Linked DNA regions of Homo sapiens: region 1 is linked to region 2. The links are contacts of gene promoters, found by promoter capture Hi-C in blood cells and fetal thymus (Javierre and others, 2016). All regions are on one chromosome and are shown on one strand. Each heading gives the region's core, a stretch centred on a gene start or on the middle of the fragment in contact. The rest is flanking DNA. Distances are from core to core; before and after follow the strand shown.

What was found. Contacts are between HindIII fragments. The CHiCAGO score rates a contact against its expected background, and 5 or more counts as called.
Region 1: a fragment that was not itself captured here is called in contact with the fragment with the promoter of KRTAP29-1 in region 2 in 1 of 17 cell types (naive CD4 T cells); the score reaches 5.2 in naive CD4 T cells.

What each region holds. Positions count from the first base shown.
Region 1 is chr17:41,537,196-41,543,257 of GRCh38, forward strand. No RefSeq gene overlaps it. Among named protein-coding and RNA genes, the nearest start is that of KRT19, 12 kb to the left of the region's middle. RefSeq lists an enhancer at 1,978-2,598. The HindIII fragment of the contact is 5,266 bases long and covers 1-4,857 here.
Region 2 is chr17:41,300,796-41,306,979 of GRCh38, forward strand. KRTAP29-1 (keratin associated like protein 29-1) reads right to left here and starts at 2,056. Exons shown (of 1, transcript NM_001257309.1): 1 at 1,031-2,056. The coding sequence starts at 2,056. The coding sequence ends at 1,031. The HindIII fragment of the contact is 6,603 bases long and covers 1-2,836 here.

The DNA.
Region 1 (6,062 bases), core at 975-3,474, 240 kb after region 2:
AGCCTTCTCCTGAAGCCCTTTTATTTTTTTTCATTTAACACCAATTATGGTCCACCTTCTGTGTGCCAGGCACCTTCTAGACTCTGGGCTTCAAGAGCAGGGCAGTCTAAAGCTGCCTGCCCTCCTGGGGCTTTCATCTGGGGTAGGGGGCAGAGTAGCAAAGCCAGGGAGGGGGTCAGCAGGGAAGGCCATTGAGGGGTGGTCAGGGAAGGCCTCTCTGAGGAGGTGACACATGAACAGAGACCTGAATGAGGCAAAGGAGCCCTCAGATCCCCAGGGAAGATTATTCCAAGCCAAGGGCACAGCAAAGCCAAAATCCCTAAGGAAGAGGGAGCTTGGTCTGTTCAGGCAACACCAAGAAGTCCCAGTGGTTAAGAGGGGTGAGCCAGAATGACAGTGTGCAGGAGATGAGCCCAGGGGAGGCCAGGACAGAGCACTCGGTGTCTGCGGTCTAATGGAGGCGCTGGCTTTTATCTTGAGAGTAATGGTGCTTTGAGCAGAGGAGCACTGGGACGCCCTCCCCACCCCTGGCTGCTCCCTGTGGAATAGACCGTGGGGCCCAAAGAGCTGGAGATCTAATAAGAGGCTCTAATGGAGTTCAGGTGAGAGACACTGGGGGCTTGTTCTGGGGAGACATCAGAGGACTTCAGGAACAGTGGCCTGGTGCAAGGGATATCCCGAGGGCAGAGCCAGCAGGTCAGGCTGACGATTCATGGGGAGGACAAGGGAAGGAGAGAATCTTGCATGGCTCCTGGTTGAGGTGTGAGCCTCCTATTTGCACTGAGGTCAGGAAGCTGGTCTGGGACGGTGGTTTATCTAATCCACCTCCAGGAAAGGAATCACACCGGGGCCCTCCTAGATCTGTGTTGGAACGCGTCCTGGCAGAATTAGGTTCTACTAACCAAGCAATGACTGTACCCCGATCTCTGCCAGCGCTGATGCCTGCTGAGGGAGGGGAAGGACAAGGGCTGTGTCCACCTGGGCCCTGCCTTCACAGACGGAGCCCACAGTTAGGGGTTGGTATGAAAGAGGCGACTTTCTTTTTTTTTTTTTTTTTTTTCTTTTTTTTTTTTGAGACAGAGTCTTACTCCATCACCCAAGCTGGAATGCAGTGGCGCAATCTTGGCTCAGTGCAACTTCTGCCTCTTGGGTTCAAGTGATTCTCCTGCCTCAGCCTCCTGAATAGCTGGGATTACAGGTGCCTGCCATCACACCTGGCTAATTTTTATATTGTTAGTAGAGGCAGCGTTTCACCATGTTGGCCAGGCTGGTCTCAAACTCCTGACCTCAAGTGATCCACCCACCTCAGCCTTCCAAACTGCTGGGATTACTGGCGTGAGCCACTGCGCCCAGCCAAGAGACAGATGATTTCTAATGAAGATCTGTGTTTTCTACATTTTCAAAAAAGCAGCAGTGAGCATGTCTCACCTCTAGCATGGGTTGAGGGGAGTGCTTATTATTTTCAATTCTGACTCATTCCAGGCTCCACTGGCTTTAGGCTGGCAAGCGGGGCCTTGCAGACTTGGGGGAGGGGTGGTCAGGTTAGTGAGTTTCTGGACCAGGTGAGCAGGGGGTTGGGGCAGAAGGGGCATTCCTAACAGCAGCTGGAAGGAGCTTCAGAGCTGCTCTGGAGACAGGATGCTGAGGCCCTGCTCATCCCGGCTCCAACCGGCTGCAGGATAAACATTCATCAGGCAGAAACCACAGAGAATCACATAGCGAGATGGGCTGCCAGGAGCTGGGAATACCAGGAATGCCCAGGCCTGGGGACTAAGGGGGAGATGAGGGAGAACGGGGGAGATCCCCTTTGCCCCAAGGAAGAGCAGCTGACGCCTGATCCCATGAGAGGGGCCTGGTATCTGAAGCGCTTTTTGAAGTCAGTTGAAAAGGAACACTATCCCACCTCAAAGACACACACACAGAGTATTAACAGAAGACAAAGCCTCACCGGCTCCCTTAGGCATCTCACGTGCATTCCAGGCAGGAACTACCCAGTGCCAGCATCAGCCCTCAGCAGGCTGCCCAATTACCAGCCCAAGGCCTACCAGCCGTGCCAGCACCAGGGAGGCACGGGGGATGCACCAAGGAACCACAGTGCCAGGAAGCATCTTCTGCCCTCCCCTGGCTCAGTCCTGCCAAGACCCTTCCCCCTCCAGTGGAATGTGCTGGAGTTGGAGAGGAAAGTGCTTCCTCCAAAGTCCTTGCCTGGGATTAGGGCTGGAGCCTGTGGGGATGAGAAGATCCACCAGAGATATCTGTCCTCGCTGAGTAAACATACAATGAGGACCTGGTACACAGAAACCGAACAAACACATCCCAACAGGGATATCCATGTCTGGGGCTTCAGAAGAAAGGGCTGGAGCATGGGGAGAAGAGAGGAGGCTTCACGAACCCCAAGTTTCCCATTCCTGCCATGTCCATGTTACCTCATCCTTATCCTCACCTTGACTGCTAAGAAACATAGTAAGCATCTTCTTGGCCGTGCACAGTGGCTCACACCTGTAATCCCAGCACTTTGGGAGGCCAAGGCAGGTGGATCACCTGAGGTCGGGAGTTCAAGACCAGCCTGACCAACATGGCGAAACCCCATCTCTACTAAAACTACAAAAATTAGCTGGGCATGGTGGTGAGTGCCTGTAATCCCAGCTACTAGGGAGGCTGAGGCAGGAAGAATTGCTTGAGCCTGGGAAGCAGAGCTTGCAGTGAGCCGAGATAGAGCCACTGCACTCCAGCCTGGGCAACAGAGCAAGACTCTGTCTCAAAAAAAAAAAGAAAAAGAAAAAGAAACATAATAAGCATCTAAAAGCCCAGCAAGATGATTTAGACAAAACTCCTACACTTGTAGGATGGGGGCATAGAAATCTTCTAGCCCAGAGATCTTCAAGCCTCGCCTGCTAAGCCCTAAGCAGAGAGGTGGGAGCTGAGCGGATCTGCTGTGACCACCCACACTCACACACACTTACACACCTCACACAGTATTCACACCTACTCACACATGCACACACATGCATACACATGCTCACACATACACTCACACACTCCCAGGCCTTCTCACACATGCATTCACACTGGTTTTATATACTCAGCTTTCTGTGAGATTTTGCTTCAGCAAAGATTCTCCCTCTTTTAAAGCCCAAACACGTGCTTCAGCCTACCTCCAGCAGTTTATATAGGTCAGAAAACTGAGAGAGAGTGGGGCCTCAGCCTGCCTAAAGTCCCACAGCTGGTGTCCTGCTCAGCAGAAACCAGCAGGCAGGTGCCCTGGAGCCAGGATGTCTGTCCCCAGGGGACGACCTGAGCTCGGGGAAGAGAAAGAGGTAAACACTGTAGGCTCCTGACAAAGGCAGGAGGCAGGCCAGGGTCAGAGGAGGGACATAGACCCGGGGCTGCTGGAGCTCAGATGGAGGGCACCCTGAGTGAGGGATCAAGGCCTGGGTAAGCAGGGAGGGCGCCCTGGAGGAGGGGGCCCTTCACAGCCCCAGGGTGAGCCACAGTAAATGGTGCCTAGAGTAAGGACATGGAGGTGGCGGATAGTGGGAAGTTCCAGTAAAAAAGAAATCTTATAAAAACAGGCTAAATGTATTGGCCTCTTCCTCTATGCCTAACTCTGTTCGAGTATGTGGCATCCATGAACTTGTTTAAATCATCGAAGCTCCCCTATGCTGTGGACACTGTCATCACTCCCATTTTGCCAACTAGGAAACTGAGAGCTACTTGCTTAAGCTGAGTTTGGTAAGGCACCGGGCTGGGATTTGAACTCACAAGGTCTGGGCCTGCACCTTGCGGTCTAACCACTGTGTCAAAGGAAAACCAGGGAGCAGAGGCTGCAGAGCTGGTTCGAATCAGACAACAAAGGGCCTAGCAGGTCAAGCCACTAGATTTGATTTTTTATTTTTTTCCTGCAGAAGCCAACAGTGATTGTTTGAGCCAGGAGATGATACATGCAAAGTACCAGGTGAGTCAGACAGCAGGTTTCCTGAGGCTGGAAACACAGGGCTATCACCCAGCTGGGTCAACAGCCCTGTCCCAGCACCCCCTCACTCCTTCCCTCTGCTGCCCCACCATCATCGCCTTATCACCTCAAGACCAAAGGACCACAGCCGCCTCCCCCAGAGCTGACCTACCCCGGCAACTCACCCCAGCACCAGGCTCATCTGTCTCAAGCCAGCTTTGATCAAATCCCTGCTCACAAATTCTCACAGTCAGCCTGTTCTTTACAGCAGCAACTCGCCATGTGGTCCTTCCACCCCCAGGACAGAACCCATGGAGAGGCGAGCCAGGGTTACTGAATCGAGTCTTTGTGGATGAACCTGCACCTTTAATAAGTCTGAATTTTTAATAAGTTCTCCAGGTGATTCTGAGGCTCACTATAGTGTGAGAACCACTAGCCTAACGCATGAGATCCATGAGATATGGGAGAGGCACAAAGATGGAGGGCCCCCTGAGTGAGGGAGCGAGGCCCGGGTAAGCTGAAAGTGGGTAAGCTGAAAGCAAGATAAAGTGGCTGAAAGAAGCCTAGCCGTGGGCCGTTTACCTGCTAACAGAGGAAGTCCACGTTAGCATAACTAAAAAGTAACACACCTAGTTTTCTGCTTTCTGTCTGGGTGACCCTGGGCACAGGTGATCAAAGCCTCACTTGGCACAGCTGCCAAATTGCCAAGAACTGTAAAGGTCTAAAATTTTACTCTTTTTGCAAGTTAAAAAGTTGTCCTGCCATAGTTTTATGGATGCTGGCAGAAGACACGAGACCCTGGGTCAGAGACAACGACTTTATTACTCATGGCACAGCAAGAAACTTGAGCTTTATGTTGCAAAGAGCTGTGGGTTCAAATCCCAGCTCTGTGCCTTACTAAACTAAGCTTAAGCAAGTAGCCCTCCACCCCAAGTACCATGAGGACAACACAAAGCTTGACTCGAGTGGATGCTACACTACATATACAATGGGTTTTGTATCACAGCTGAGGAGTTCCACACTTGGGGGAACCAAATTTTTTATAATGGGCTGCAAGAAAACCTGTTTGATCTTTGCTCCAGAGAGAAATATTGTTATTATTATACAGAACAGTAAAAAAAAAAAAAAAAAAAGCTGCCTCTTTTCCAGAGGAAGATGTCATCTCTGTCTTCCAAGGAAGTTTACTAGCACATCCTTGAAAAGGCAGACCAGAACAAAAGCTGTCAGTGCCTCTGATTGCAAGATGTGCAGAAATACAAGAGATCCACAGACAATTGCCTCCCCAAACAAATGGGTGTATCAATATTCATCTCTCTTGAAGGTAACAAGTTTTAAATCAGATAATGTGAGAGAAAGTTCGTGGAAAAATGAGGACAATTACAATATAAGGAGATAAGAACATGGAGGCAAATAACTAGAGTGAAAGTGGAAAGTAATAAACTGGGAACCTCTTGCAACACAATTTATGGAGACAATAAAGCAGGAAGATATTCTCAACCCTTATCACCGACCCAAGGTTAATATCTTTAATATATATAAAGGGCTCCTACAAATAACTAAGTAAGAAACCAAGAACCCTGCAGGAAAAAGGGCAAAGAATATGAGCAAACAGTTCCCAGAAAAGGAGCTACAAGTTGCATTTAGACTTATGAAAACGTTCAACCTTACTTGAGAAGAGAAATGCAAATTTAGAGTACCATGAAATCCCATGATTTACATGTCAGATTGGTAAAGATAAAAAGGTTTGCTGGCCGGGCGCTGTGGCTCACGCCTGTAATCCCAGCACTTCAGGAGACCAAGGTGGGCGGATCAAGAGGTCAAGAGCTCGAGACCATCCTGGCTAACAGGGTGAAACCCTGTCTCTACTAAAAATACAAGAAATAAGCCAGGCGTGGTGGTGGGTGCCTGTAGTCCCAGCTACTTGGGAAGCTGAGGCAGGAGAATGGCGGGAACTCAGGAGGCGGAGCTTGCAGTAAGCCGAGATGGCACCACTGCACTCCAGCCTGGGTGACAGAGCAAGACTCTGTCTCAAAATAAAATAAAGTAAAAAGGTTTGCTAAATTACTATTTGTTGGGAATATGGGGAACTGGACACACCACACATTGCTGG
Region 2 (6,184 bases), core at 806-3,305:
TAAAACAATTAATAGTCTCTCTACAGATCCAAAGTATACCTCAGTGACAGAAAAATGTGAACTATGAAGATTTGTTTGCTAGTTACCAAATTATTGCTGCTCACCTACAGGTACACCCTTCATTGCCTGCTCTATGATAATACAAAGGGATCCTATGAATATTTCTCCTTAGCCAGCTGACACAATGTCCCAGGCAGGAGAATCGCTTGAACCCAGGAGGCAGAGGTTGCGGTGGGCCGAGATCACGCTCTTGCACTCCAGCCTGGGCAACAAGAGTGAAACTCTGTGTCAAAAAAAAAAAAAAAAAAAAAAGAATCTTAAATGAATTAACCCTAAGCTATTCTCTATGGCCAATACCTCATGTTTGTTTTCATCTGTGGCTTTCCAGAACCATTTTTGTTGTTGGCTTCCTGTCTACTCACTATAGGGAAAATGAGCCCACTCAGCTCAAAAGAACTCTTGGTGGTGAAAATTTTGGAAGCCAGTGAACTGTTTGCCCTTACTCTCGTCCAGCTGGAGAATCTATAATCCTAGACACTAGCTACCCTTGCAGACCAATGCAGACCCACTGACTTAGATGACTCAGGCTCATTGTGTTCAAATGTGACCTGAAGGAAATCTACATAGAGGTGTGTGTAGGAATGAAAGCACTCCAGGAGTCTTATTTATTATACTTAACCAGTCACATTTTTATTAGCAGCTGGCAGCAACGAGGTCTTCTGAAAGACCAGGCAGCATCAAGAAAGAGAAACAAGAGAGGGTTTGCTAAAGTGAAATGAATTGACATCATCAGGAAATGCAAGCAGCAGTGTGGTAGTCCATGGTTGCTGAAAGGTTATTCTCGGTTAAGAAGGATCTCTTCGTGCCTGGACAAGTTCCCTGGTCAGCACCTGGAGAGAATGTGAAGGTGGAATCAGGGTAAAGTTAGAAAGCAGGCAGCATTTGTACTCGGTGGGAGGCAGGCACCCAGGGATGGCTATGCATTTATAGACAGCCGCAGACCCTCAGAGGAGGTGTGAAGAGGGCTCCATTAACAAAGTGTTGCCTTGCAGAAGCTGGACTCACAGCTGGGTTGGCATGAAGTCGGCAAGCAATTGGAGCCACTACTGGGTGATGTGCCTAAACCAGTCACACAGCAAGCTGATTTGCAGCCACTCTGGTTATAGGAAGGGGGTCCATCACAAGTTGGTTGGCCAGAAATCACAGTGTCACAAGAAGCTGGTTTGCAACAGTTCTTTGTGGAACAAGGGGCCTGGCAGTTAGCCACTGGCTGGTAGATGAAGCATGTGGAAGGAACCAGTTGGCAGTGAGGTGGCTGGCAATGGGAAGGCACACAGCAAGTAGTATTGCAAGAACTGAACACACAAGTCGATGGCTGGCAGGGAACAGGCATGTAGAGGGCTGATTGGCAAGGCTTGAAAATATAGCAGATGGGTTGATAATAAGTTGATTTACAGGGCTGGCCTTCACCACTGACGGGTTGACATGAACTTCCTTGGCACCAAGTTGGTTGGCATGGACTAGCTGTACAGATGGTTGGTAGGCAAGAAGTTTCCGGACAGGAGGTCACTTCAGAGCAGGATGGCTGGCAGGATCCAGCATCACAGCAGACTGATTGGCCACAAGCTGCCTGACATGATCCAGACATGCAGACAGATTCCTGGCAGGAGCTTTGCTGGCAGGGACTGGCATCGCAGCACTTTTCCTGACAACAAGTAGATTCCGAGCAGGATGGCTGACATGAGCTAACCAGACAAGGAGACTGACCAGTGCCAGACTGATAGCAGGCTGCGTGGGAGCACATAGGTTGGCAAACAAAACCCACACAAGACGTTGCTGGAAGGCGGGTAGGTTGACACGAAGCAGGATCACAGCCACTTGGGGCACCAATGGATGGCTGACAGCTTTCTTGGCATGTGACCAGTTGCCACATTCTGCTGTGGCAGGAACTAGGCAAACAGAGAGCATGTCGAAATCCACCTTTAACTGGGTATGTGGTGATGGTGGGCACAGCTGGAATGGCTGTGGTGTTTCCAGGACAACAGCCGTCTGCCATGGTGCTGGTGCTGACCTTGCTGGGAAGTTGCAAGCTCAGTATACCTGCATTGGAAAGACATCCGATACAGAGGGGCTTTTATAGTCCTTCACTAGGGGTGTTGGCACGCCATGCAGCATCTTTCCTTGTTATTGTTTTTACTCATTTGCATGCAAACATCTGATTAGCAGGCTTCAGGAGCCTGGGAGATGTTTCAACTTTGAAAAGGTGTCTGTTGAGTCGGGAGTTTTCTGCGCTGCATTTGGATTCGTTGACACTGCTCCTGCTCTTGGATGAGCTGTCTCTTTTACAGGTTGCTCTCCAGCCTCACTGAAGCAGGCCTTTCCTGGCACTAACCTTTCATCAGGAGGCCTCTGCCAAGCCAGAGTGGCCCTGCTGTTCCTCCAGGAATGCAGCTTTGCACCATTCAATCAGAAATGAAGCCTTGACCCAGTTTGGGGAGAGGATGTCAAGACGGGAAATGGAAAATTAGTCCAAGGAACCCAGGGACACTTAAGTGCCTCTACCTCTTTTTAAAACCTTCCCATTTATCATTCCTGAAACTTGTTTACTAGTACTATTACTAATAATAACAATAGAAATGGCTTTCATTTATTGCATAGTTACTAGATCAAGTCCTTGGCTGCATTTTTCACTGGATCCTCACAATGACTTCAGTAAGTATAATTGTCATCACTATGTTAGAAGTGGCAAAACTAAAAAAAAGTAATAAATAAAGAAGAAACCAGGTTTAAAACAAAGTTAAGATTAAAATATAAAACTTCATTGGCCCTTTTAGGAAGCTTAAAATCTCCCCCAAATTGGTTCCTCTCAAGATTTTTTTAGAACAGAAAAGAAGAAAACAGAAGTGGCAAAACTCATAGAGTTTAAATCATGTTCCCAAAATTATGCAAATGAAAAGGGGTAGAAACAAAATTCAAACCTAGCTTTGTCTGACCACCAAACCCCTGATCTTAACCACCTATTAGACCCCCTGACTTTGGGGAGGCAGGGAGAAGGCGACACTGATATAGTGGCTGCAGGCTGACACCCCTATGGCAACAGACTGGCTCGTGAGCAGGTTGCCCAGGCCCCATCCTGGGGATCCTCCGCCCACTCCAGTGACTGTAATCAGCAGCTAGACCACACTGGTGTGAGTACTTACCTCTACTTATCAATACACTCAAACACAGTCTTTTAATTTTGGAAATTTTTTAAACTACCAAATATTTCATCAGGAAGTATCAAACCCACCCTAGGGCATCAATAGCATATGAATTCTATACAAATAAAAACACGCCAGCAGTGATAATAAAAAAAATCACTGTAAAGTGGTGTTAATGTTAAACCAATCCCTTCCAAGAGGAATTCGTGAGGGACTTTCTTGGCCCTTCTGCTTTTCCTCCGGGCTTGTCCTGGCTCCGCATCACCAACCAGGTCCGGTGTTCTACACCAGCCAACGTTCTGGCCGGTTCACGCTGGAGGCACATGACGGAGTGGAAAGATCACGGTGTGGGGAGCCAGATGGGGCTGGCCTTGATTTCTGGCTCTGCCACTAACTCATTCTGTTGAATATGTTAGCTAATTACCTAAGTCTTCAAAGTATGGCGATTTCATCAACTGCGTTGTCATGTCTCAGGTTAGTTTTTTGTGGGTGTTTGTTTGCTTTGGTTGCTTCACAAATTATTGAAAATACTGAAAACGCTGAAGGGTACTTTGCAAACCCCCAGCTACAAAATGCCTTCTCCTTGGCACCCTCTTCACCTCCATTTTAAAAAGAAGAGAAACATTTTTGATCAGAACAATGTCTGGAAAACCTTCTCCCCTGCCATTGAAATGCCTTTTTCCCCACAGTTGGTTTCTATGTCACACCATGGATCACTTCTTTTGCCCTCCTTCTTGTCTGTATTCATGTTGGCATCTTTCAATCTGCAGGAATCCATGCACTGTGTTTTATTGCTGAATATTTACCCCCAAAGCTCTTCATCTTCCCAGAGGATGTATTTAATACTTTCAGTCTTACCAAATATGTCAATCAAACTGGGAACATGAGCATGTTTGAAAAATCACATCAACTTCAGTCCAATATCCTATACCACTTTTATAGTTTTAAAGCAATCCATTCTACATCCATTTTTCTCTAAGTGATTCTGCTCTTGTTTTCTTTTCTCCTAAAGGAAACTCTTAATAGCAAGAACATCTGTCTTGCTGTAGTTCAAGGCACTAAAAACACCTAGTGTATCAACAAAGACACCTGTGACCACATTGAGACATATCATGATCCATACAGAACCTAGGCTTTGGAAAGAACTGGGTTTTAGTCATTTGCATGTTACTTATTAGCCATGACAATCGTGAATTTTATCACTCCCTTTATATATATGTGTTTGTGTGTGTACATATGTGTATAAATGCATGTATACTCATACATATGTGTGTCTGTGGTTTTTGAACAATACACACATATATGTTTGAGTGTGTGTATATATATACACACATTATATTAATATACATAAATATATACACACACGTATGGTTTTCTGGAGCTTGTTTATATCAATCAACACTATGTTAGTAAGATTCATCCATGCTATTGCATGTCGCCATTTTCCAGTCATCTTCACAGTATAATATCCCATTGGGTGAATATACCACAATTTAATTGTCCATTGATGGGCACTTGGATTGTTTGTCCTTCGAATTCTGCATCTTATGTATAGGTGAAAAAATAGGAGAGAATACATATTACTTCAAAGAATTGCTGTAATCCATATGAAATGCTTAGTCCAGTGCTTGGCACAGAGGTTCAAAACCCTAGCCAACTCCTGTGTGTGTGTGTGTGTGTGTGTGTGTGTGTGTGTTTAGACAGAATCTCTCTCTGTCGCCCAGGCTGGAGTGCAGTGAAGTGATCTTGGCTCACTGCAACCTCCTTCCAGATTCAAGCAATTCTCCTGCCTCAGCCTCCTAGTAGCTGGGACTACAGGCGTGCGCCACCATGACCAGCTAATTTTTGTATTTTTAGTAGAGATGCGGTTTCACCACGTTGGCCAGGCTGGTCTCGAACTCCTGACCTCAGGTGATTCACCCACCTCGGCCTCCCGAAGTGCTGGGATTATAGGCTTTAGCCACAGCATCCGGCTGGCCAACTCCCCTCTTGACTCTGGAAGGAGACAATGATAAATCCCAATGGCTTGATGAGACAGTAACTCCAACACCAATGTGATTAAGTTTTGCTTTTGACTTTCTCCCTCTGCCATAGTCTGACCCAGTGGTTCTCAAACAGGGGTGATTTTTGCACTCCCAGGCAATGTTTGGCAATGTCTGGAGACATTTGTGATCATCACCCTCAAAGGATGCTACTAGAATCTGGTTCATAGAGGCCAGGGATGCTGCTTAACATCCTATAATTCACAGGACAGCCTTTACAACAAAGAATCGCCCAGCCCAAAATGTCAATAATGCTGAAGTTGAGAAGCCCTGGTCGACCCTCACACTGTGCTCATGATGACTCAAGCTGCCCCTTGAGGACAAGGAATAGGCCTCCATTCTGTGCACTAAGTGTAGGGAGTGACTGCTTTGAAGAGACTCTGTCCTTGGATTTTGTAAGATACAGAATTTATCCTATGAGTGTCTTGGAGGAAGTAGGAGAACATAAACAAAATTCTCACACAAGAAATCCAAGTTACCCAACCTTCTTTGTTGTAAGTATGATCCCTGATCCCCACTTGTTTTTCTTCCTGTGGACCCAAAAACAATTGGCTTCCTTTCCTCCCCAGTCTCTCTATATCCAGAACCATGTTCTTCCATTGAGTTCTCCACACCAACCAAGGCCAGAGGGATGTTCCAAAACCAGTGCTCTTCCTGTCACCTCCTTGCATGCAGCCCCTTGATGCTTTCATGTCAGCCCTGCATCAAACCGAAATACCTCTGTCTAGCATGCAAGACCCCACATAGACAGATCACTGTCTACGACCTGACCTCATGGCTCATTCCTCAAAGAACAACTCTCCCATGCCTCACCTAATGAACAATTTGCCCTCAAGCCCCATTCACTTGTACAAGTCTCCTTTGCCTAGAAAGTTTTTCCTTTCCTGTTTGTAACTGGTTAATTCCTACTCATACTGAAAGACTCGATGCCAGTATCACATT